Regions from separate parts of the Homo sapiens genome. Here regions 2, 3, 4, 5, 6 and 7 are each linked to region 1. The links are contacts of gene promoters, found by promoter capture Hi-C in human tissues and cell types (Jung and others, 2019). All regions are on one chromosome and are shown on one strand. The core of a region is centred on a gene start or on the middle of the fragment in contact, and the rest is flanking DNA. Distances in the headings are between cores, read along the strand shown.

Region 1 (3,242 bases), core at 287-2,786:
AGGTCAGACTGGGCAACACAGTGACACCCCCTCTCTAAAAATAAATATGTATCTTAAAATGTGGGCCGGAACATTAAGTCGGCAGGAACTGTACACTGTGTGGTTTAGAGTCATACATCCTCACACGTTTGGTAATGTTAAGAAATGCACCAATGCCTCTCAAACTTTTACATCAATGTATCCACATGGCAGAAGGCAGCCTTTCTGTTGAACCTGGGAATTTAACAGAAAGAGGACAACCCAAGCCTCATTTCAGAGAAAAGTCTGGTATACTCTTAGAAATTTATGTGACTGTCATCCCTAAGTACATTAATGTTTTTTCTCTCTCAAGAGAATAAAGGGAGACTGATGCTTCAGAAAGATGCCCCGTATTTATCCTGTGGCACTCCAAGTACCCCAGGTTGAGATGATATGAGGAAGATTCAAGCTGTCAAGTTCAGTTTCCCAAGACCTGTTCCACAGAAGATAAGCAGATCTCATTCCAGAGACCACTGAAGGGCACTCTGGTCCCAGAACCATGGAGAATTCGAATATGAGGTGGAGAAGTCAGAAAAAAATGTTAAAGTCTCTCTGGAGAGTAGAAGCCTGGGGGAAAACCAAACCAATCCCGTTCTCACATTGCCACCCAGAGATACTGCCAATGTTTTCAGTTCACGGGTGAAGTGTAGGCTTTTCACACTGTCAATGTCTATGTTAAGGGTGTAAGGCAGCCTGAAACCTCTCCCTCCTAGGTCCCATAGTCCCCAATCCCCTTCCAGCTGGAAATTTATGCTGTGACCAGAGGAACCAGAAGCGGGATGAGAACACTTAGGGGACTGGGTCCTAAGATCAAAGACTGGTCTCGCGCAACTAATTACGGTTCCGAGGGGGATTGTGACGTCACTACATTCCACTCCTAGGGGGAACATCAGCGCGACGTCCAAGTCGCCGCTCCGCGATGGGGGAGGGGACCGCAGGGCCAGGACCCAGGTCCTTGGAGACCCGAGACCAAAGAACCCCGGGAGGTCCGGTTTGGGGCGGCAGGAGGTGAGGGTCGAGTCTGGAGCGGGGGGCCCCGGGAGTCACGGGCCCAAAGTCACTGGCGAGGGCAGGGGCTGAATTGCTGGGGTCCTAGGTCCTTGGAGACGCCAGCCCAAAGAGCCCAGGGAGGTCGGACTTCGGGGGGCAGGAGGTGAGGGCCGAGTCTGGAGCGGGGAGCCCCGGGAGCACCAGCCCAAAGTCACCCGGGGGCGACTGGCGAGGGCGGGGGCTGGGCGGCTGAGGGGGCGGGGCTGGCTGACAAGACTTTGGTGGAGGGAGCCCGGACGCGCCGTGGGGAGCCCAGCCCGGTGTGCCTCAGGAGTGGCAGAGACTCTGGCCATGGTCCTGCCATCGGAGTGGGGCTGGGGCTGGGTCGGGGGGCCGCGACCCGGTGCACTTTACCTTTTTCTTCGCTGCGGCCAATTTGCTCTGTCGGGTTTCTTCCGACATCGCGGGGCGGGGAGGGAGGCGGGGTTGGGGCCACATCAGCGCGATCCCGGCAACCACTGCGGAAGTCAGTCAGCCACCGCGCAGCTGTGCGACGGAGCCAGAGGAGGCGTAACCAGGGCGATACTGGAGCGCAGAATGGGGGCGTGGCCTCAAAGATCAAAGCCCATTGGTCAATGAGAAATATGAAGCGGAAGGGGGCGTGGCTATGCAGCGGCGTGGCCAGAGGGACCTGTGGCGTCACAACAAAAGCTGCGCACGCAACCGCTGTCCCCGCCCACCTCGGGAGAGGGGCGGGGCCGGCTTTCCTTGGGTGCGCGCGCAGCTTTCTGTGCGCCAGTTCACACTCCGGGTCAGAGTTCCTGGCCCGGTGCACCTGAGAGGTCGCTCTCCGACTCCCGCGCTGGACCCTCTTGCGCCATTGAACCCCCTGATCCGGGGGCCTCGGACCCCAGGGCTCAGGAGGTGGGCGAGGAACGGACTCCACAGTTTCTTTCCTGACTCCTCACAGCCCTGCCCCAGACTCTCCCTTCCCAGAAATCACCTCCAAAGACTCCCATCCAGTGCTCCAGACAACCCCCGTCTCAGAACGCCCCCTTCCTAGAGGGTCTCTACCCTGATCCTGAGAGCGTGTCTGCCCCCTTTCCAGATGGATCCAGTCCCTGGCGCTCCTACTTCCCAACTGCTCCTCCTCCCGCATCCCCACAGTACCCCGTCCTCACAGCGGGCTGTGGGTCCAATCAGACTTTCCCCTCGGATTCCTCTCTAGGACTGAACCAAGACTTACCCGAAGTTGCCGCGGGGCCTTCCGATCCCCTGTGAGTATTTCTTCCCCCACACCCCCTTTCCCATCCTCGACCTTCCCTTGTGCGCTCCCGGCCCCACTCCCCATCCCAACAGCAGCCAATCCCCGCTTGGCCCTCTTCCATATCTTCTCCCAGTCGACTGAGAACCGCCAGGTCATTCCCGAATCCCTCCCCTTCCTTTCCTCATGCCCGCCAGTCTTCAAAGAAGTGTTATCCTGTCCTGTCCTAGGCTAACTCCTCTCCCTCCCCATCCTGTCTCCTGGCTCCTCAGATGCCTTTCACTCCAGTCCAGCACCAGCCATCTCTCCTCCTCGCTCTTTTCACCCCTCACCCAGCCCTGCCTTTAAACAAACCCATAGCTCCCCAGTCAGGAAAATGCTTGGCGTTCACCCTGGCCACTCCTTTCGTTGCTAATAGTCTCTCCTCTTCGCTGGCAAGCCACCCCCAAAACGCAGCCTACTCCTTCTCTCATCCCCCAGATGGAGTTGCCACTACAACTACCACCACTCTTAAGGTAGATCGTGAGGGCCGGGTGCAGTGGCTCACACCTGTAATCCCAGCACTTTGGGAGGCTGAGGCGGGCAGATCATTTGAGGTCAGGAGTTCAAGACCAGCCTGCCCAACATGATGAAACCCTGTCTCTACTAAAAATACAAAAAAATCAGCCGAGCGTGGTGGTGCAGGCCTGTAATCCCAACTACTCAGGAGGCTGAGGCAGGAGAATTGCTTGAACCCGGAAGGTGGAGGTTGCAGTAAGCCGAGATTGCACCACTGCACTCCAGCCTGGACAACAGAGCTAGACAAGTCTCAAAAACAAAAAAGAAGTTAGATCGGGAAAGACTTGGTATTTGTTCATTGATTTAGCAACTGCTGCAATGCAGGTGTATGCCAGATAGCCCCCTGCCCTCCAGGAGCCACAGGCAAAAAAATAATTCCAGGACAAGTATGCACATGGTTCTGAGATGGGGA
Region 2 (3,242 bases), core at 264-2,763, 510 kb after region 1:
TTTTCTTTTTTTTTTTTTGAGATAGAGTGTCGCTCTTTCGCCCAGGCTGGAGTGCAGTCGTGCAATCTCCACTCACTGCAAGCTCTGCCTCCCAGGTTCATGCCATTCTCCTGCCTCAGCCTCCCGAGTAGCTGGGACTACAGGCACCCACCACCACGCCCGGCTAATTTTTTTCTTTGTATTTTTTAGTAGAGATGGGGTTTCACCGTGTTAGACAGGATGGTCTCGATCTCCTGACCTCATGATCCGCCCTCCTTGGCCTCCCAAAGTGCTGGGATTACAGGCGTGAGCCACCGCGCCTGGCTAGCTGTTTCTTTCTTTTTTTTTTTTTCTCAAGAAAAAGGTGTTAAATAATACAACCATTTCGGAAAATCTTTAAGCAGTTTCTTTTCTTTTCTTTTCTTTTTTTTTTTTTTTTGACAGGGTCTTGCGTTTTTGCCCAGGTTGGAGTGCGGTGGCGCTATTGGAGTGCGGTGGCACTATCTCGGCTCACTGCAAGCTCCGCCTCCCGGGTTCAAGCAATTCTCCTGCCTCAGCTTCCTGAGTAGCTGGGATTACAGTTGTGCGTCACCACACCCGGCTAATTTTTGTATTTTTAGTAGAGACGAGGTTTCACCATGTTGGTTAGGCTGTTCTCAAATTCCTGACCTGGTGATCTGCCCGCTTCAGCCTCCCAAAGTGCTGGGATTACAGGCGTGAGCCACCACGCCCGGCCTACTCAACTAATTTTTACATCTTTTGTAAAGAAGGTAATCTCGAGGAGCTGGGATTACAGGCGCCTGCCACCACGCCCGGCTAATTTTTGCATTTTTGGTAGAGACGGGGTTTCACCGTGTTGGCCAGAGTGGTCTCCAACTCCTGACCTCAAGTGGTCTGCCTGCCTCGTCCTCCCAAAGCACTGGAATTTACAGGGATGAGCCACCGCGCCCGGTCCAGCCTATTTTTCTTAAGATATCATTTGTGTTTTTTTCTTTCTTCCTAACTTACATTTTATAGGGTTTGCTGGTATAGTTTTTATAAAAAAAAAAAAAGTTGGGCCGCGCACGGCGGTTCATGCGAGTCCCTGCTATACAGGCCTTGAGGATTCTGCAGAGACCAAGATAAGCTGGGGGGCCTGAACAGTTTAGCAGGGGAGGCCGAGACTCCTGTAACAATCATGCAGTAGTTAATTACAGGGGGGTGAGTGCAGGGAAGACGACAGGGTGACAGGTATATTGCGTAAGTAGACACTGAGGCCCAGGGAAGCGCAAGGAATAGTCCAGAGACACACAGTCTGCGCTGTCACCGGCGGGTTCTCAAATTTGGCCCGCAGGGTCGGCGGCGCTGGGGCTCCCGGCCCGCGATTGCCACGCCCACCAGACCCGAGGTTGCCCCGCTCAACCCGGCCGGCCGTAGCCGCCAGTACCGTGTGGAAGCGTGAGAGTCGAGGGGTGGCACGTGACTGGCGGGGCGGGGCGGGGCTGAGGCGGTGGAACGCGCAGGCTAGTGGCTGTGTTTCCCGCCGGAGGCTTTTGCGCAGAGCCCCGCGTCCCTGGGGGGCGGCGGCGGCGGCGGCAGCGCAGGCGGCAGAGGCGCAGGCGGCGGAGGCGGCTGGGGGGTCCGGAAGTCAACACCATGTCAAGTCTGCACAAGAGCCGGTAAGGGGCCATGGGGCCTGACCCGGCTGGGCCACTCCTGGCCAGGCTGCCCCTTCTGCCCCTCAGAAGGGGGAAGCGCGGGTGTGGCCAGGAATCGGCAGACCCCCTCGGCAGAGGGTCTCGAGCGTCCACCTTCTAACCTCATTGCCTGTGGGCTGCAGGAACGACGGAGGGGCGGCCCTTCTCCTGCCCCTGATGTCACTGCTTCTGCCTCCCTCATCCTGGACCCCTGGTGTCCCCCTTCCCCTGAGTCTTCCTCATCCAGACCCCCATGCCCCGCCCCCGTGCCTTTCCCCCTTTTGATCCCCCTGCTCCCGTACTCTCTCCAAGTGCACCCTGTCCCCCGTGCCTTTTTCTTACTAGGATTGCTAGAGAACTTGCATTCTCCAGTCTGGCCCCTCCCCCAGGCCAGATCCTGCAGCATTGGCTGAATTTTGCTCACTCTTCAGTTTTCCTTCAGGACGTGTTTTTTAAACCCTTTGTCCTTGCCTTCTGGCAGGCCCAGAGGTCTTGTAATGGTTATATTTGTGAGCATGGTCCATTGTCTGCATATCAAATTACTCCTGGTTCCTGAGGTCCAAGGAGTTCAGTTGGTGGCTGTGCGTGGACCCGGCCTGGCCGGCAGGAAGTGCCCAGTAAATGTCAGCTCACTAAGTATTAGAATGTTGGAATATGTCTAATTTTATGGTCCTCATTTGGGAACTTCTAGACAAGAATATCTCTCAAGTTTCTTCCCTGGCATTCTGTGTTTCTGGTTGTAGAGGAAGAAGTGAAATATAGTTTTGTTGTTCTCCAAAGCTGTCTTTGGTGAGGACCTTGACTAAGCTGTGTGATTTTTATGTCCTAAAGGGGAGAGAGGCACAGGTTGGAAACTGGCAGTGTGAGGGAGCTGAGGGCTGTGGGTCTCACTGAGCCGATATCAGCATGCTTCATTTGCCGCCCTATCTCCCCTTCCAGAATTGCAGATTTCCAGGATGTCCTGAAGGAGCCCTCAATTGCATTGGAAAAGCTGCGGGAACTCAGCTTTAGTGGTAAGAAGCCATTCTGTATTTTCACGGTTTCCCTACAGCAGCCCTGTGGCTAGAATACAGGGGGAGGCCACACCTGGTCAGCTCTGGGGCCCAGCTGCTGGGGGCTGGGGCCTTGGAAGGAAATTACACACAGACTCTTGGGGCCTTTTCCAGATTCTGTAGAGCTGAACAGGCAGTGACTGCCTTGAGCTTGGAGGGGTTTCCCAGAGGGGCAGTGGCCACACTTAGCATGCCCTAAGCTTTCCTAAGCTTTCCGCAGGAGGTGCCAGATTCCTGAGAGTAACAGGACAGGACTGAAGCCTGGAGAATGAGAGTTGGGACCTTTTGAGCCCAGGACAGTCTTTCCTCATTCCTTAGCTAGCTTCCTGTGTTGGTGAGTTTGGTTAACTGCAGGGTTGTTCCTTGTTCTCTCCCTGGCTTGGGGTCTAAGCTGCCTGAACTAAACCTTGGCTAGTGGTAAAATGGGTAGCCTTGGGACACTGACTTTAAGGAGCTGATCCTGCTGTGTTAGACTTTGCCCCAATGAGCACAAAGATAACTCTCTTTTTGCCTGTTTTAAAAAATATCCCAACGT
Region 3 (3,242 bases), core at 297-2,796, 450 kb after region 1:
AGGCCGGAGAGCACAGTGAGGCTGGGCCGGGTAGAACAGGAGTGGGTGGGGTTGGGGTGCAGTTGGAGGTGGGGAAGTGTGTTCCTGGCTGAGCAAAGGCCTGGAGATGTTGGTTCCATGAGTGGCTGTGTGTGGCCAGCAGTTCATCTGCACTTTTATCTGGAGGGTCAGAGGGAACCATGGAAGGTTATAGAGCCAGATCTGTTTTGGAAAACCTCATTGCTAAAGAAATGGATCAGGGGAAGCCTGGGGGCAGAGAATCTGGCCAGGAGGAAGAAGAGAGTCGCTACAAAGGCCTGGCAGGAAGTGAGGGAGGAAGGAATGGACAGGGGGCTGCTGGGTCAAGGGAGCCAGACCTGACTGGATGTGGGAGAGAGGGAAGAGGGGTCCAGCGTCTCTGGCTCTGCAATGGTGAGAGACTGGTTAGGTCTGAAATGCCTGAGAGAGATACAGTGGGAAGGGTGCAGCTGGCAGGCTCAGATGCTGCAGAGGGGCATACGGAAGGGTCCAGCAGGCTTCAGCCCAGGGAGGTGACAGGATTTTGGGGAGGTAGGGTGCAGGGCAAGGAGTGAGGGGGCATGAGACCACCAGACAGCAGAGTGTAGACAAATCCTGTGTCCCTTGGTTGTAAGGGGGAGCAGAGAAGAAAGGGTGGGTTTTGAGGGGGGTTTTCTGATACGGAGACCTGAGCAAGTTTTTAGGCTAAAGGGTGAAGGTGGTGGAGGAGGTCTGTCTTGGGAGGAAAGCCAGAAGGGGCCCCAGTCCAGAAACTGAGGCTGGACCGCCATGGAAGGAGGGCTGGGGTCTGCTGTGGGGGACAGTGGGGGAGGCTGCCTGTGGCAGGTGAGGCGCTGGGTAGGGGGCTACTAAGAGGAATGAGGGAAATGGAGGTGGGTGGGTGGGTGAATCTGTGGGAAGATGGGAGACAGGCCGCACCCCATGGAGTGTTCTCTGGCCTGAGGGTTTGCCTGGACTTGGGCAGCTAGTGGCCATGGGGGTGTGGGGGGTGTGGGTGTGGGCAGAATGCCAATCTTTGCATCTAGTTGAGCCTCCTAATCGTATGGATAGGAAGATTTGGGGTCAGTTCCTGGGAAGGATCATGTGGGTCCCAGGATCAGGGGACATGGGGCTCAAGTCGGTCCTTGGATCTGGTGGGCACCGGCTGGGTCCTGGGATGGACAGGGCATTTGGCAATGATCAGGAAGATGCTGGGATTAATTAGGGATCAACGGGGTATCAGACAGAGAGCAGGTGGCTCTTGGAATGATAGATGGGGAGAGGGCTTCAGGAGCTGGTGGAGATCGGGCCAATCCCAGGATCTCCAGGGATTAGGCGGGAGACCCAGTGTGACCAGAACGTCTGGGGAAGTACGCGGGATCGGGTGGGTCCGGGGTCGCTCGGGGTCCGGCTCACCGGTATCGTGCAGGAAGAGCACCAGCGTGATTCCCCAGGTCAGCACGGTGTGCCCGGTCCGCACCAGGACCCCAGGGCTGAGGAGCGCCCAGGGCGCCATCGCCTCGGCCCGGGGCCCCACCCGGAAGAAGCGCCCAGAGGGGCGGGCCCTCCGAGGGAGGGGAACGCCGCCGCCCGGGGACTGGTGGATCTAGGCGTTGGGCGGGGCCGGACTGGGTCAGGGAGGCTGCCTATTGGATGGCATCTGCGGCCGAATGGACCCTCAAGCCAACAGGTGCCTGAAGAGGCTGAGGGTGGGGCCGGCGCGCGCGCAGCTGGTAACTCCCTCAACTCCAGCCCCACCCGCCAGGTAACTTTTGAAAGCGCCGGAGCGCGCGCGCACCTCCCCCGCGCTCCGCTGTGCCCTCCCCCGCGTTCCCCTGTGCCCGCCCTCGCAGCCTCGCGCATGCGCGTAGCTCCCTGGGCGCTTCGAAGATCCAGCGGCTTGCTGTGAGTCCGGGAGGCAAAATTGTACCCATTTCAAAGATGTGATGACTAAAGTCTCGAGAGGGCCAAGGCTCGCCCAAGGTTGCTCTGTGGTGACAGCTTTACCTCCTTGCTATGTATTCTCAGATATTGCAAACGGACGAGAGAAAAGTGGAGGTACGTGGTGCACATTCTGACTATGGGTGATCCAACTTAGGCGGGAGTCAGAAATCCCAGCACTGCCCCTTCCTACCTGTGTGACCCTGGGCGAGTTACTGAGCCCCTCTGAGCTGTTTTCTGTCTCTATAAGGGGGATTACAATAGTGTCTTCCTCCTAAGGTGTTTGGGAGGATTAAATAATGGAAGCGCCTTGTCTAGCACGGGACTGTCTTGCCTCTCCTGCTGTGAGCCACCACCTACAGGCGGACTTTCCTCACCGGAGGCTGCAGGCTGTCCTCCTTCCCTGTGTCCCCAGGGCCTTCTCCACTCAGCCCCGCCTTTCCACAGCACCTCCCACTGATACCAGCATCCTCCTCCGCCTCCCTCTGATTGGCCCCATCCCAGCTCCTCCAGGATACTCCTCTGACATCTGTTGTTTTTCTCAGCTCAACATCCTTTTTTTGGTTGGGGAATCGACTTCCCATCCCATGTGATTGGAGGGACTGCCCCTCACCCCATAGGATGGCGAGCGGCAGGCTGTGGGCTTTCGACTCTGCAGAACCAATCACAGGCCTTCCATGAGATTACTGTCTAGATGCTGAGAGGAAGGAGCATTCTTTTGGATCTCAAGCCTAAGGAATGGGATATAAGGCAACTGGGAGCCGTCTTTACGCTGGGCGGAGAGGGCTTACCCTGTCTGTGGCTGGAGAAAATGAGACCAACTTATAAAGACACATAGAGATGGATAAGCAGCACTAAAGGAGGGAGCAAGAGATGGTCTGAACAACATTGTCTGAGCCCTCTAGATCCGGCTGTCCCTGAAGCTGATACTGACTCTGCATCCCCTGGTTGCAAGAGTCAATGAATGCCCACCTTTTTTTTTTTTTTTTTTTTGAGACAGAGCCTCACTCTGTTGCCTAGGCTGGAGTGCAGTGGCGCGATCTGGGCTCACTGCAACCTCCACCTCCCAAGTTCAAGTGATTCTCCTGCCTCAGCCTCCCAAGTAGCTGGGGTTACAGGCACATGCCACCACGCCCAGCTAATTTTTGTATTTTTAGTAGAGACAGGGTTTCACTATGTTGTCCAGGCTGGTCTCGAATTCCTGACTTCAAGTGATCTGCCTAACTCAGCCTCTCAAAGTGCTGGGATTACAGGTGTGAGCCACCATGCCTGGCCCCAATTCCCACCTTTGACTAGCCTGAGTA
Region 4 (3,178 bases), core at 679-3,178, 420 kb after region 1:
TTTCAAAGACTGAAAATTGTCTGAATTGCAGTGTAGGTCTTCTGATGGTTTAGCAGTGTGGCATCAGTGGTTGCTCTAACTTGCCTTACAACTTTGTTATGGATTAGCCACTTTATTTAGAAATCGCGCTTGAGGGAAACAATTGAAATTGGACTGGAAATGGAGTGGGCGAAGTAAATACACACGTTACCAGAGTGTTGAGTTTGGGCACTCTTAACAGTCATTATTACTCAGTGTTTATTGATAAATCAGACAAAATTGCCATCTTAGTTTTGAGTGTCTAAATTAGGTGATAATGGTTATTATAATTTGGTTATTTTGCATGACTCAAGCTAGTAAGTAAATACACTCTGTAATCTCAACCAATTTTTTAATTTGTTAAATACTATCATTGTCAACATCTCTTTTCATTTGCTTCAGACTTAATGAACAAGCCAGTGAGGAGATTTTGAAAGTAGAACAGAAATATAACAAACTCCGCCAACCATTTTTTCAGAAGAGGTCAGAATTGATCGCCAAAATCCCAAATTTTTGGGTAACAACATTTGTCAACCATCCACAAGGTATGTTTTGGACAGGGCATTGTTAAAGGATAAACAGTGTTTGTTAGAATGGAGGAAGCTTGGTGAAGACTTAGTCCAGCATGCTGGGTTGCGTGCAACAAAGACAGGCTGGGTGCGGTGGCGCACCTGTAATCCCAGCACTTTGGGAGGCCGAGGTGGGTGGATCACTTGAGGTCAGGGGTTCGAAACCAGCTTGGCCAACAGGTTGAAACCCCGTCTCTACTAAAAATACAAAAAAAATTAGCTGGGCGTGGTGGCGCGCGCTTGTAATCCCAGCTACTCGCTACTTGGGAGGCTGAGGCAGGAGAATCGCTTGAACCCAGGAGGGGGAGGTTGCAGTGAGCCGAGATTGTGCGCTTTTGCATTCCAGCCTGGGCGACAAGAGTGAGACTGTTTCAAAAAAAAAAAAAAAAAAAAAAAAACCTCAAAGACGGGAAAAGATATACAGCTACTGCTTTCTATTCTGTTTAGGAGAAGCTATATTCTAATTGCTTGATGAAAGATAGTGACAGTCTGATATTGAGCAATTGCCTTTAGTTAATAATGGGTTTATAAAACCAAAGATGCTCACTAAGTTCGGAAAAATTTTAAAGGGATCACTTAAATTGTTGTTAGTGTGTGCCTGTTGAAAATTCAGCTGACCTGTAATTTTCTGGCCTAGTGTCTGCACTGCTTGGGGAGGAAGATGAAGAGGCACTGCATTATTTGACCAGAGTTGAAGTGACAGAATTTGAAGATATTAAATCAGGTTACAGAATAGATTTTGTAAGTATCTCTAACTTAATCTTGTTTGCCACTGTGGAAATTAATGTGAGCTTTGGTTGGAAGACCTGTTCATATTTCTAATCTTTCAATTATTTATTACAGTATTTTGATGAAAATCCTTACTTTGAAAATAAAGTTCTCTCCAAAGAATTTCATCTGAATGAGAGTGGTGATCCATCTTCGAAGTCCACCGAAATCAAATGGAAATCTGGAAAGGTATGTTTTGAGGAATTATTTGACAAAAATAGCATTTTGCCTATTTCAGTTTAGTTTTAACCACTTACAAGTGCTTGATACTTTGGTCATGTGGCTAAATACAAAACCTTAAAATATAAAACGTTCCAGTGTGCTGAAGCCAAGTATTACAGTAGTTTAGGGTTCTCATTAGATACTACAGATGTAGGCAGGAAGATCTCTTGAGCCTAGGAGTTTACCCTGGGCAACATAGACCCTTACCTTCCAAAAAACAAAAAAAAAGAGAAAAATCTAGCCCAAGTTTAAGAATTGAGAACTGGACTAAATTTTTTGTTGCTGTTGTTTTCTGCAGTGGTGACTGAGCTCTTCAAATGGCTTGCCATTTCTCAAAATCATTTACATCCGTATTTAGGTAGTAAGACATAGTTTAGATATTTATACTGTGTTGTGCTAGTGGCTGTTAACAGTGGAACTAATTTTATGGAAAACCAAATGTAGTTGATACTACCTCTACCTGCTGCACAGTTTTATAATTGCTCTTAGGTAATAATGGTAGCGTAGATAGTATACTGATATTTGTTTTGCTTAGCTTTTGGGGAAAATCTTATTTTTTAAATTATAGGGAGTTTGGGTGTTATGGAGAGATTGTATCAAAAGCTCTTCCGGTATTCATTTAGGATTTGACGAAACGTTCGAGTCAAACGCAGAATAAAGCCAGCAGGAAGAGGCAGCATGAGGAACCAGAGAGCTTCTTTACCTGGTTTACTGACCATTCTGATGCAGGTGCTGATGAGTTAGGAGAGGTCATCAAAGATGATATTTGGCCAAACCCATTACAGTACTACTTGGTGAGTTCTAATACTCATTTATTCAAGGTTGGACTTGTCTCGGTTGTTTAAAAATGAGTCCTTATATTGTGCTTTTTTTTTTTTAAGGTTCCCGATATGGATGATGAAGAAGGAGAAGGAGAAGAAGATGATGATGATGATGAAGAGGAGGAAGGATTAGAAGATATTGACGAAGAAGGGGATGAGGATGAAGGTGAAGAAGATGAAGATGATGATGAAGGGGAGGAAGGAGAGGTAAAAGAAAATTTGGCTAAACCCACAAAGATAACTTTTAAAGAATTCATGTTATTTTGGGGTGTATATATATATATATAGTGTGGTAGAACTGACCAGAACTGATTGTGGAAAAAAAGTAAGCCATTTTGTTGTTCAAGAATTAAGGAAATGTTTGATAAGCACATGGTACTAATGTTTAACTAGGTTTTTTTTGGTTTTTTTTTGGGTTTTTTTGGTTAGACTTATCACCACCCAAGCTTGTTTTTCCCTAGCCAGTACTTAGGCAATATAGGCAGTGTAGCTGGTCAAATTCTGACATCTCTGAAATAACAAAGTTTCATGTATTTTCGACAAACTGCACAATTTCTGAATAGTCAAATTAGGATAGGTTGGTTTTATTTCGGATTATTTGATCCGAAATATACCTGATTTGGTTAGAACTGAAGTTACTAATTAATCTGAAGCAACATCATCACGGGTGTTTCCTTCGATGCAGCTGACTTACAGGTTTAGAAACTGGAGTGCCCCCAGGGGCACTCGTGGGGTCCATTGTGGTCCATATGAAAGCAAGTCTCAGCATTAATCCTGAAG
Region 5 (3,242 bases), core at 1-2,500, 350 kb after region 1:
GGAGGAGGCTGCCGCAGTGATCTGCGGTCTGAAGGAGAGCAGGAAAGGGGGCATGTGTGACTGAGTCTCAGCAGTGTCCAGGTGGACAGTTTGGCTTGGGCATCTGGGGGACATGCTGGTGCCATCTGAGCCTAGGAAGAGCAAGTTCCAGTCCTGTGGAGTCACCACAAATTGGCTTGTCACTCCTTGTTCAGGAAACTTTTGACGCTGGGCTGCAGGCCTTCCAGCAGGAAGGCATTGCCAACATCACTGCCCTCAAAGATCAGCTTCTCGCCGCCAAACACGTTCAGTCCAAGGCCATCGAGGCCCGGCACGCCTCCCTCATGAAGAGGTGGAGCCAGCTTCTGGCCAACTCAGCCGCCCGCAAGAAGAAGCTTCTGGAGGCTCAGAGTCACTTCCGCAAGGTGAGGATGGGGCCACGTGAAGCTTAGCTGGCCCACAGCTCAAGGAAGGACGCCCACCTTCTGTCTGCCCAGCTCTGCCACTCCCCCTTGAGGAAGCTGTGAGCTCAGTGCAGAGCTTTCAAACATGGGTGTGGCTGGCATCAATTAAAACCAGGGCAAATGAGAGGGCCCTGTGAGATCGCCATTCAGAAGCACGCAGGACAGACTAGAGACAAGGGCAAAGGGTAGGAAGGGGAAAAAAGGCTGGTGAAGACTTGAAGGGGGAGCAGGAGACAGGAGCAGAGGGGAGCTAAGCTCCCAGCAGGCTGTGTGCGCCTCTGATTCCCAGGAACCACCCCGCACCCCACCTCCTGCACTGCGTCGGCACGTCCAGCCCTGGCGACTCCGCCAACTCAGTCTCTTCTGCTTCCAGGTGGAGGACCTCTTCCTGACCTTCGCCAAAAAGGCTTCTGCCTTCAACAGCTGGTTTGAAAATGCAGAGGAGGACTTAACAGACCCCGTGCGCTGCAACTCCTTGGAAGAAATCAAAGCTTTGCGCGAGGCCCACGACGCCTTCCGCTCCTCCCTCAGCTCTGCCCAGGCTGACTTCAACCAGCTGGCCGAGCTGGACCGCCAGATCAAGAGCTTCCGCGTAGCCTCCAACCCCTACACCTGGTTTACCATGGAGGCCCTGGAGGAGACCTGGAGGAACCTACAGAAAATCATCAAGGTACACCTCCCGCTGCCCTCAGGAGCTGCTCGGCCTCCCAGAGCCCTCTCTGGGCCCTGCTCAGAGCCCACACTTAACTGAGTCACGACAAGACGAGCAGGATGGAGGAGCATGGTTTCATCAGAAGTTTCATTTCTTTTTGTGTTCTTGAGGCAGGGTCTCTGTCACCCAGGCTTCAGTGCAGTGGTGCTACCATGGCTCCCTGTAGCCTCAACCTCCCAGGCTCAGGTGATCCTCTTGCCTGAGCCTCTTGAATAACTGGGACTACAAGCACGTGCCACCACGCCTGGCTAATTATTTTAATTTTTGTAGACAGGGTGTTGCTATGTTGCCCAGGCTGGTCTTCAACTCCTGGCCTCAAGCAGTCCTCCTGCCCAGGCCTCCCAAAGTGCTGGGATTACAGGTGTGAGCCACTGTACCCAGCCAGAAGTTTCCATTTCTGACAGTCCAGCAACTCCCTGCTTGACTGACCAGTCGCTTCCCTCCAGGTCCGCCTCTTCCTTGAAGCCCCTGGGGGGTGGGAACAGAGAAAGAACTACCAAGTGCTCTGAGCCGGCCTCATGTCTCCCAGCCTCCTCCTCTCATCTTTGGGGAGGTTCCTTGTGGGGAGGCCACCACCACCCTGAGCCCATCTGTGAAGGAGGGGCTGGTGTCACTGCCACAGCAGCGCACAGCATCTGCCCCCCTTTGGCCCTCAGGAGAGGGAGCTGGAGCTGCAGAAGGAACAGCGGCGGCAGGAGGAGAACGACAAGCTGCGCCAGGAGTTTGCCCAGCACGCCAACGCCTTCCACCAGTGGATCCAAGAGACCAGGTGCCAGCCCGCTGGGGCCGGGGAGCAGCAGCATGTCCCTGCTGTACTTAAGCCCTGGGGAGCTTCCAGCCCCAAGGAGGTGGTGGTGCTTTGTGTAAAACCAGAGGCAGCCTGGGAATAAAGCTGGGCTGGCAACGCCTGGTCGGGCTCTGGAGCCGGGAGTGGGGGCATAGGTGGAGCAGCCTCTCAGTGCTGCATGTCCCAGACATCAAGTTGTTAGAGATCCCGGATTGAGTGGGACCATGCAGGGCGCGTGGTCAGCCCCAGCCATGACTTGGTGACAGACGATGCAGGGTCTGTGCGTTGGGTACTGATGTTCTTGCTTTTGTTTTCCTTTCTTTCTTGTGTCTTCTCTCTGTCCCCCCGATTGCTGCTGTTGTCCGGACACCACCTTGTCTCCCGGCTGCTTGGATCTGCTCTCCACAGGACATACCTCCTCGATGGGTTAATATTGTTTTCTTCCTTCTCTGGGCTTGTCATGTGGGGGTCTCGTGCGCTTGCCCCTCGTGGCCTGGCTTGTGGAGGATCCCGGGATGGGCCTTCCTGCCCAGGGCGGGCTGCACTTCCCCTCCCACCCTTCTCGTCACCTGATGAGGAGTGTGTGCCTTGCCCCATAGCCCATGGTCCCTGGTCCCCGATAGAGCCTTCAAGCCAGGGGGAGCCGTCCTTGCCTCACTGGGCGATTCCAAGGGCTCACTTTGGGTAGGGAAGGTGATGAAGCACGAAGGCCAGAGCTGGAGTCCAGAGGCCCTAAGAACCCCCGTGCCTGTCCAGCCACCGGGCTCTGTTGGGCTCTCACCTCTGCTTCCCCAGCGAGTCCAACAGTGGTCAGTGGGCATGAAGCAGATGGCAGTGCTGGGGGCTCAGGCAGGGTACAGTAAGTCCACAGCTGAGAAGGGCTGGGCACTGACACCCCCTAAGTAGCTGAGGCTGCCACTTTACTTTCCTGGGGTCAGGGAGGGTAACAAGACTGTCCGCCCTAATAGAAGGCAAAAATGCACCCGTTATGTGATAGACAGGACGTGGGAGGAGCCCCAGGGAGGAGCAGGGCTGGGCTGTCCCGCCCAGTCCCGGCAGGGACTTCTCTGCTTGGCCTGGGGCCTCTGCCTGGCCGGGTCACCTTTGTAATCTGCCAAGCCTGCTGTGAAAGCCAGGGCTGCTGGGACTGGAGTGGCTTGGCCTGCACTCCTGAGGCTCTGCACCCAGGCACATCAAGCCTGTATAGGCGGCCAGGGGAGAAATAGACCCATCCAGCCGGGCCACACATTCTGATGGCAGAGCAGCTGGGGACGTAGGGATCGCAGTTTCCGGCCTGTGC
Region 6 (3,242 bases), core at 230-2,729, 330 kb after region 1:
GAGACAGGGTTGCACCACATTGCCCAAACTGATCTTGAATTCCTGAGCTCAAGCGATCCTCCTGCCTCAGCCTCCCAAAGTGCTGGGATTACAGGCATGAGCCACCACGCCTGGCCAACAAAAGCTTTTTCATTTGAAGCTATCAAAGACTTAATTGTAGCTAGAACTTGTTATTCTGGAGGGTGAAAAGATCTTAATTATAAGCCTACTGACTTTTCCTCTGAGAAATTCGGACTTTTAAAAAAATAACAAGAAGTTTTTTAACACTTTGCCCAAAGACCTAGCCTCATTCAGTAGATCAGATTAACCCAAGATAACTTTCTGAGGCAAGAATTATGTCATTCTCTGTTTTCCTGGGCAGAAGATCTCCTTACCAGGTAATATAATAGCTATTTTTCTGGGGTGCTGGTTTCCAGGGACCTCATGTCTTGGATCAATGGAATACGGGGGTTGGTGTCCTCAGATGAGCTAGCCAAGGATGTCACCGGAGCTGAGGCATTGCTGGAGCGACACCAGGTGGGTGGACCTGCCTGCTGAGTAGCAAAGACGTGGCTGCTCTGCAGGGCCCTAGAGGCCTCATTCCCACCCTTTGTGGTGAGTCGGTGGTTGACGTCAGAGTGGGCATCTGCTGCCAGTTACCTAATCCCTTCCCTCCTTTTGGCAGGAACACCGGACAGAAATCGATGCCAGGGCTGGCACTTTCCAGGCATTTGAGCAGTTTGGACAGCAGCTGTTGGCTCACGGACACTATGCCAGCCCTGAGATCAAGCAGAAACTTGATATTCTTGACCAGGAGCGTGCAGACCTGGAGAAGGCCTGGGTTCAGCGCAGGATGATGCTGGATCAGTGCCTTGAACTGCAGGTGTGTGTGCTCCTGGTTTCTGACCAAGTGTTTCCTTGCTGAAGGGCCTCATTTTCTCACCTGCCTCTTGCCCTCTTTAGCTGTTCCATCGGGACTGTGAGCAAGCTGAGAACTGGATGGCTGCCCGGGAGGCCTTCTTGAATACCGAAGACAAAGGAGACTCACTGGACAGCGTAGAGGCTCTGATCAAAAAACATGAAGACTTTGACAAAGCGATTAACGTCCAGGTGAGGCCTCTGGACCATGGAGTTGGAGTCTGGATTTTTCCTGATTGACATCTGTTTCTTGGCTTATATAGTCACTGTTATATCTCCAAGGAATACCTGCGTTGTCTAAGAAAAATATGTACATAAATAATCTTTAAAACTTTATAGATTCTGGTATTTCTGAGATTTTAATAATGGGGGTGCCACAGGAAAAAAAAATATTATCAAAGGGATGGAAAACAAATGTGTGGGTAGGTAAGGGAATAATGAACAAACAACAAGGAAGATGTAAAACTGTTTGATTTATACGTCACTTTGCTGTAAATCTGACAGCATTTTCCTATTATCAGGCTTAATTTTGTTCTGTTCTGATATTCTAACACCTGCCCCACCTGAGTGACCTGGAGACTTCTTGAGTTAAACTCTACTCTAGTAATGAATGAAATCAAGCTTTCTTTTGGCATTTTACACTCTTGCTTCTAAAGTGTCAGTGTATTCTGATCCTGCCACCAGCTAGTTCTCAGTCACCCAAAATAACTATCCTTTTCTCAAGACTGGCAGTCCAGGCAGGGCCCAGCCACAGGCCCACCTTGATCTCATGCCTTTGTTTTCTGACAGGAAGAGAAGATTGCTGCTCTGCAGGCCTTTGCCGACCAGCTCATCGCTGCCGGCCATTATGCCAAGGGAGACATTTCTAGCCGGCGCAATGAGGTCTTGGACAGGTGGGTGTCCTGTGGCACTGACATAGTCACCAGCCCTGAGAGGATGCATCCCCTCATACGAAGGCCCAGGCCTGTTCTGTCTCCCCACTTCCTTCTCCACGGTAAGATATGCTCATGTTGGATCTCATGGTTTCACTCTTTCAGGTGGCGACGTCTGAAAGCCCAGATGATTGAGAAAAGGTCAAAGCTAGGAGAATCTCAAACCCTCCAACAGTTCAGCCGGGATGTGGATGAGATTGAGGCTTGGATCAGTGAAAAATTGCAAACAGCGAGTGATGAGTCGTACAAGGATCCCACCAACATCCAGGTAAGCTGAAGTGACTGGGTGTTGGTCTTGATGTAGCCTTATGTTATTGAGTAGATTTTGTTAAATAAAGCATTTATAAAACAATCTCCTTGCACCCATGGGAAGTCAGTGAGAAATATTTCAGTAAGCCCAGCCAGTGGGAAAGCCCTAGTCAAGTTTCAGAGCCATTTAAAAGTTGCCTTCCTCATTTGTCTCCATTAAAACTATTTCTGCTGTAATAAAAGTCTATAGAATCCCCCTTCTATTACTGTTCCCAAATGCTGAGCTTCCTGGGGGAAGTATGACAAAATGAGTTTCTATTTAATAGCTGATATGTGTGTCCACATCAGTGTACTGAACTCTTGTTCTTTTAATCTGTTTTTGTAGCTTTCCAAGCTGCTGGTAAGTTTTTAATTTTTTTAAGAGTTGTAGTTAAATGAGCTCCAGTATTTGTGTTACTCTGCGTAGATTATTGTTATTATTGTGGTCACACGGTTTGCTGGTGTCTCTTCATCCATCCTTTTCATTTCTAATCATCCATTACACTCCATTCAAGTGTCCCTGTGGGATGTGGCTTTTTCTGTTGTAATTAGCCTGCAACGCCTTACTCCCCCTTCTCTCCCCCAGTTTATCACTTAGGCAAATTCTGTACAGTGTTTGATTTGCGGGGCAGTAATTGACCATTTTCTTTCAAGGAGTGCTTCCTTTTGAAGATGGAACATCAGCTTCAGCTTTTTCTGTGTAGACATTGGCTCAGACTTGCTATGAGCTCATGGTGTTCGGTGGCCTGGGTTGGGGAGGCCAGTCTGGTGTGAGGGTTTTAATGCATACCCACTCTGGCATCCAGAGGTGCCAGTCAGGAGAGGAACAGCTAGAGAACTGTAGAGAGACGGATGGTCTATTAATACCTCCAAATCTTCAAGGAACACAAATGAGAAGTTAAGATAAAAGCAGACATCACTCAACAGGTAGTGAAAGGAGACTTCAGTCAACATGTAGCTCAAAGTTACTTAAGCGGGTGGAAGAAATGAAGATAGAGAAGAGAGTAAATGGGATTTGAACCAAAGGGTGATCAGAACAAGGAACAGAAGAAGAGGGTAATGGGACTTTTGTCAGGATATCTGAGTGTTTGAGACCCTTTTCCTTCTTGGCTTTGGGATCAGGCG
Region 7 (3,242 bases), core at 455-2,954, 310 kb after region 1:
GGAAGTTAGGAGAAGTAGTGATGCGCGGGAGGTGTGCATTACAGTGATTGTTTTTTAAAATGTTTTGGAATCCATTTTTCACTTGGTTTTTTTTTTTTTTTTTTTTTTTTTGGAGACAGAGTCTCACTCTTGCCCAGGCTGGACTGCAATGTTACAATTGTGGCTCACTGCAGCCTCAAACTCCTGGGCTCAAGCGATCCTCCTGCCTCAGCCTCCCAAGTAGTTGGAACTATAGGCAGGTACCACTACCTGCCTAGCTACGCTTTTTAATTTTAATTTTATTTTTAGTAGAGACAGGGTCTCGCTATGTTGTCCCATCTGGTTTCAAACTCCTGGCCTCAAACAATCCTCCTGCCAAAGCCTCCCAAAATGCTAGGATGATAGGAATGAACCACCCCTTCTGGCCCATTTTTCACTTTTTATTATGAAAATGTAATCATACCTAAAGGAGAGAGAAGATGACTTCTCACTCACCTTCAACCGTTAACATTTGTCACTCTTGTTTCATCTATGTGAAACCATATGTGTGCTTACATACATACTAACATACCAACATGCACACATACATATATACATACCTACAAACATACCAGCATACACATGTACATACCAGTGCGCACATATACCCACATACCAACATGCACACATACATACATAGATGTACTTGGTTTTTTACTGGTTATCTGTTTTTTGACTAAAATTCTCAAATTTTATTCATAAAGGTCTAGGTATAGTTCCTGTACCTAGCTCTTACCACTCTTCACAAAAACTAGAATGAGTTGAATTTTTCCTTTTCTTTTTTTTTTTCTGAGACAGAGTCTCACTCTGTCATCCAGGTTGGAGTGCAGTGGCATGATCTCGGATAACTGCAACCTCCACCTCCTGGGTTCAAGCGATTCTTCTGCCTTGGCCTCCTAAGTAGCTGGGATTACAGGCGCCCGCCACCACGCCCAGCTAACTTTTTTTGTATTTTTAGGAGAGATGGGGTTTCACCACATTGGCCAGTTTGGTCTTGAACTCCTGACCTCAAGTGATCTGCCTGCCTCAGCCTCGCAAAGTCCTGGGATTACAGGCGTGAGGCACCGCGCTCGTTCTGTCGCTAGGGCTGGAGTACAGTGATGCAATCACGACTCCCTACAGCTTTGACCTCCTGTGCTCAGCAGTCTTCCTGCCTCAGTCCCCTGAGTAGCTTGGACTACAGGCACGCACCATCACATCTGGCTAATTTTTGTATTTTCTGTAGAGATGAGGTTTCAGTATGTTGCCCAGGCTGGTCTTGAACTCCTGGGCTCAAGCTGTCTGCCTGCCTCAGCCTCCCAAAGTGCTGGGATTACAGGCATAAGCCTCTGTGCCTAGACCAGGATGAGTAAGCTATAATCATAATATATATGATTGTCCCAAAAGATGAGAATCCTGAAAAACTTTGAAAATGATATTAGCACTGTAAGAAGGGCAGGAGGTGATTACGTCATTGTGCAACTGAGAAAGGCTGTTGAGGCAGGATGGCAGGTTGGCGAGGCAGTGGAGGATGGGAGGCTTCAGCCCCTGCACAGTGCTCCATGTGTGGTTTTGGTTTCAGGCTCTACTGAAGAAACACGAAGCTTTGATGTCAGATCTCAGTGCCTACGGCAGCAGCATCCAGGCTTTGCGAGAACAAGCACAGTCCTGCCGGGTAAACTTGTAACAGTTTATGGGTTACTGGAGGGAGGCCTTGAAGGACTCAGATACTGTCAGCAGGTGTTCCTATCATAGGCCCCATTTGACTCTGCTATTAACTCTTGTGACACAAAGATTTACAGAGTTTAAAATAAGATTTATTTATTTATTTATTTATTTAGAGACAGAGTCTCACTCCGTCGCCTAGGCTGGAGTGCAGTGGCACAACCTCGGCTCACTGCAACCTCCGCCTCCTGGGTTCAAGCGATTTTCCTGACTCAGCCTCCTGAGTAGGTGGGATTACAGGTGTTCACCACCATGCCCAGCTAAATTTTTTTTTTTTTTTTGAGATGGAGTCTTGCTAGAGTGCAGTGGCACTATCTTGGCTCACTGCAACCTCTGCCTCCCAGGTTGAAGCAATTACCCTGCCTCAGCCTCCTGAGTAGCTGGGATTACTGGCGCCCGCCACCACGCCCAGCTAATTTTTGTATTTTTAGTAGAGATGGGGTTTCACTATGTTGGCCGGGCTGGTCTTGAATTCCTGACCTCATGATCTGCCCGCCTTGGCCTCCCAAAGTGCTGGGATTATAGGTATGAGCACTGTGCCCGGCCCTACTTTAAAATGAGATTTTTTTTTTTTTTTTTTGAGATGGAGTTTCACTCTTGTTGCCCAGGTTGAAGTGCATTGGCCTGATCTTGGCTCACCGCAACCTCCGCCTCCCAGGTTCAAGTGATTCTCCTGACTCATCCTCCCGAGTAGCTGGGATTACAGGCACGCACCACCACGCCTGTCTAGTTTTGTATTTTTAGTAGAGATGGGGTTTCTCCATGTTGGTCAGGCTGGTCTCGAACCCCCGACCTCAGGTGATCTGCCTGCCTCAGCCTCCCAAAGTGCTGAGATTACACGTATGAGCCACCGTGCCCAGACAAAATGAGATTTTTTTTTTAAAGATACCAAAAATTTAAAGTTCTTGGATCAGATTTTATTGGTAGCTTCAGTGAAGAATTCTCATGAGTGTATATTTGGTACATTTGGTACAGCTGGTGGCATTTGAATCTGCTCTGTACTTAGATGACTCAGCGCGGACGTGTTTTTACCATGTTTGCCCTTCCTTTGGATTTTTAGCAACAAGTGGCCCCCACGGATGATGAGACTGGGAAGGAGCTGGTCTTGGCTCTCTACGACTATCAGGAGAAGAGTCCCCGAGAGGTCACCATGAAGAAGGGAGATATCCTTACCTTACTCAACAGCACCAACAAGGCAAGGCACAGAGAGTGGCTGTGTGTTTGTTCCACGCTGGCACCTCCACGTATGCTCAGTTGGGTTTCTGTGGGTTGCATGTCTCCCTGAAATGAGAAGGCTTAGAATTCAAAGACATGAGTTTCCTCACCAATCCCCCACGTGACATACATTTATGCAGTACTGTGTATGACCAAGAAGTTAATCTGTCTTCTTGAATACCTGCAAGAAGCATAGATAATCACACTCAGAAGGATAGCTTATTTTCACCATTGAGTGTCTCTAGGTGGAATTTTTGTCCTGTCAAGCCAAAGTTTGCTTTCTGTATAACTTGGACCTGTTGGTT

Evidence for each region. The method cuts DNA at HindIII sites, captures the fragments that hold promoters and counts their contacts. A contact is called where the count stands out against the background at its distance.
Region 2: the fragment with the promoter of TBC1D13 here is called in contact with the fragment with the promoter of GOLGA2 in region 1 in 2 of the 25 tissues and cell types used here (dorsolateral prefrontal cortex and spleen).
Region 3: a contact is called between the fragment with the promoter of ZDHHC12 here and the fragment with the promoter of GOLGA2 in region 1, in 1 of the 25 tissues and cell types used here (dorsolateral prefrontal cortex).
Region 4: a contact is called between a fragment that was not itself captured here and the fragment with the promoter of GOLGA2 in region 1, in 2 of the 25 tissues and cell types used here (dorsolateral prefrontal cortex and lymphoblastoid cells).
Region 5: a contact is called between a fragment that was not itself captured here and the fragment with the promoter of GOLGA2 in region 1, in 2 of the 25 tissues and cell types used here (H1 embryonic stem cells and dorsolateral prefrontal cortex).
Region 6: a contact is called between a fragment that was not itself captured here and the fragment with the promoter of GOLGA2 in region 1, in 1 of the 25 tissues and cell types used here (dorsolateral prefrontal cortex).
Region 7: a fragment that was not itself captured here is called in contact with the fragment with the promoter of GOLGA2 in region 1 in 2 of the 25 tissues and cell types used here (dorsolateral prefrontal cortex and lymphoblastoid cells).

Annotation. Positions count from the first base shown.
Region 1 is chr9:128,274,471-128,277,712 of GRCh38, forward strand. It overlaps GOLGA2 (golgin A2), which reads right to left and starts at 1,537. Exons shown (of 27, transcript NM_001366244.2): 1 at 1,423-1,537. The coding sequence starts at 1,506. It overlaps SWI5 (SWI5 homologous recombination repair protein), which reads left to right and starts at 1,806. Exons shown (of 5, transcript NM_001318089.2): 1 at 1,806-1,932; 2 at 2,237-2,285. The coding sequence starts at 1,871. RefSeq lists enhancers at 1,001-1,050, 1,911-2,040 and a silencer at 1,201-1,310. The HindIII fragment of the contact is 26,420 bases long and covers 1-3,242 here.
Region 2 is chr9:128,785,740-128,788,981 of GRCh38, forward strand. TBC1D13 (TBC1 domain family member 13) reads left to right here and starts at 1,514. Exons shown (of 12, transcript NM_018201.5): 1 at 1,514-1,637; 2 at 2,595-2,668. The coding sequence starts at 1,615. RefSeq lists a silencer at 1,162-1,651. The HindIII fragment of the contact is 9,895 bases long and covers 1-3,242 here.
Region 3 is chr9:128,722,581-128,725,822 of GRCh38, forward strand. ZDHHC12 (zDHHC palmitoyltransferase 12) reads right to left here and starts at 1,547. Exons shown (of 5, transcript NM_032799.5): 1 at 1,414-1,547. The coding sequence starts at 1,513. ZDHHC12-DT (ZDHHC12 divergent transcript) reads left to right here and starts at 1,882. Exons shown (of 2, transcript NR_046240.1): 1 at 1,882-2,055. RefSeq lists a silencer at 1,436-1,915. The HindIII fragment of the contact is 17,684 bases long and covers 1-3,242 here.
Region 4 is chr9:128,691,438-128,694,615 of GRCh38, forward strand. SET (SET nuclear proto-oncogene) reads left to right here. Exons shown (of 8, transcript NM_003011.4): 3 at 421-563; 4 at 1,225-1,328; 5 at 1,431-1,544; 6 at 2,201-2,371; 7 at 2,459-2,605. Among named protein-coding and RNA genes, the nearest start is that of SET, 3.8 kb to the left of the region's middle. The HindIII fragment of the contact is 6,023 bases long and covers 1-3,178 here.
Region 5 is chr9:128,625,575-128,628,816 of GRCh38, forward strand. It overlaps SPTAN1 (spectrin alpha, non-erythrocytic 1), which reads left to right. Exons shown (of 57, transcript NM_001130438.3): 48 at 195-404; 49 at 817-1,113; 50 at 1,812-1,924; 51 at 2,351-2,368. Among named protein-coding and RNA genes, the nearest start is that of DYNC2I2, 30 kb to the right of the region's middle. RefSeq lists an enhancer at 1,448-2,093. The HindIII fragment of the contact is 6,522 bases long and covers 1-3,242 here.
Region 6 is chr9:128,607,188-128,610,429 of GRCh38, forward strand. SPTAN1 (spectrin alpha, non-erythrocytic 1) reads left to right here. Exons shown (of 57, transcript NM_001130438.3): 32 at 417-516; 33 at 665-862; 34 at 943-1,089; 35 at 1,687-1,790; 36 at 1,935-2,097; 37 at 2,464-2,478. Among named protein-coding and RNA genes, the nearest start is that of DYNC2I2, 48 kb to the right of the region's middle. The HindIII fragment of the contact is 5,536 bases long and covers 1-3,242 here.
Region 7 is chr9:128,586,027-128,589,268 of GRCh38, forward strand. It overlaps SPTAN1 (spectrin alpha, non-erythrocytic 1), which reads left to right. Exons shown (of 57, transcript NM_001130438.3): 20 at 1,580-1,672; 21 at 2,783-2,917. Among named protein-coding and RNA genes, the nearest start is that of SPTAN1, 35 kb to the left of the region's middle. The HindIII fragment of the contact is 3,861 bases long and covers 1-3,242 here.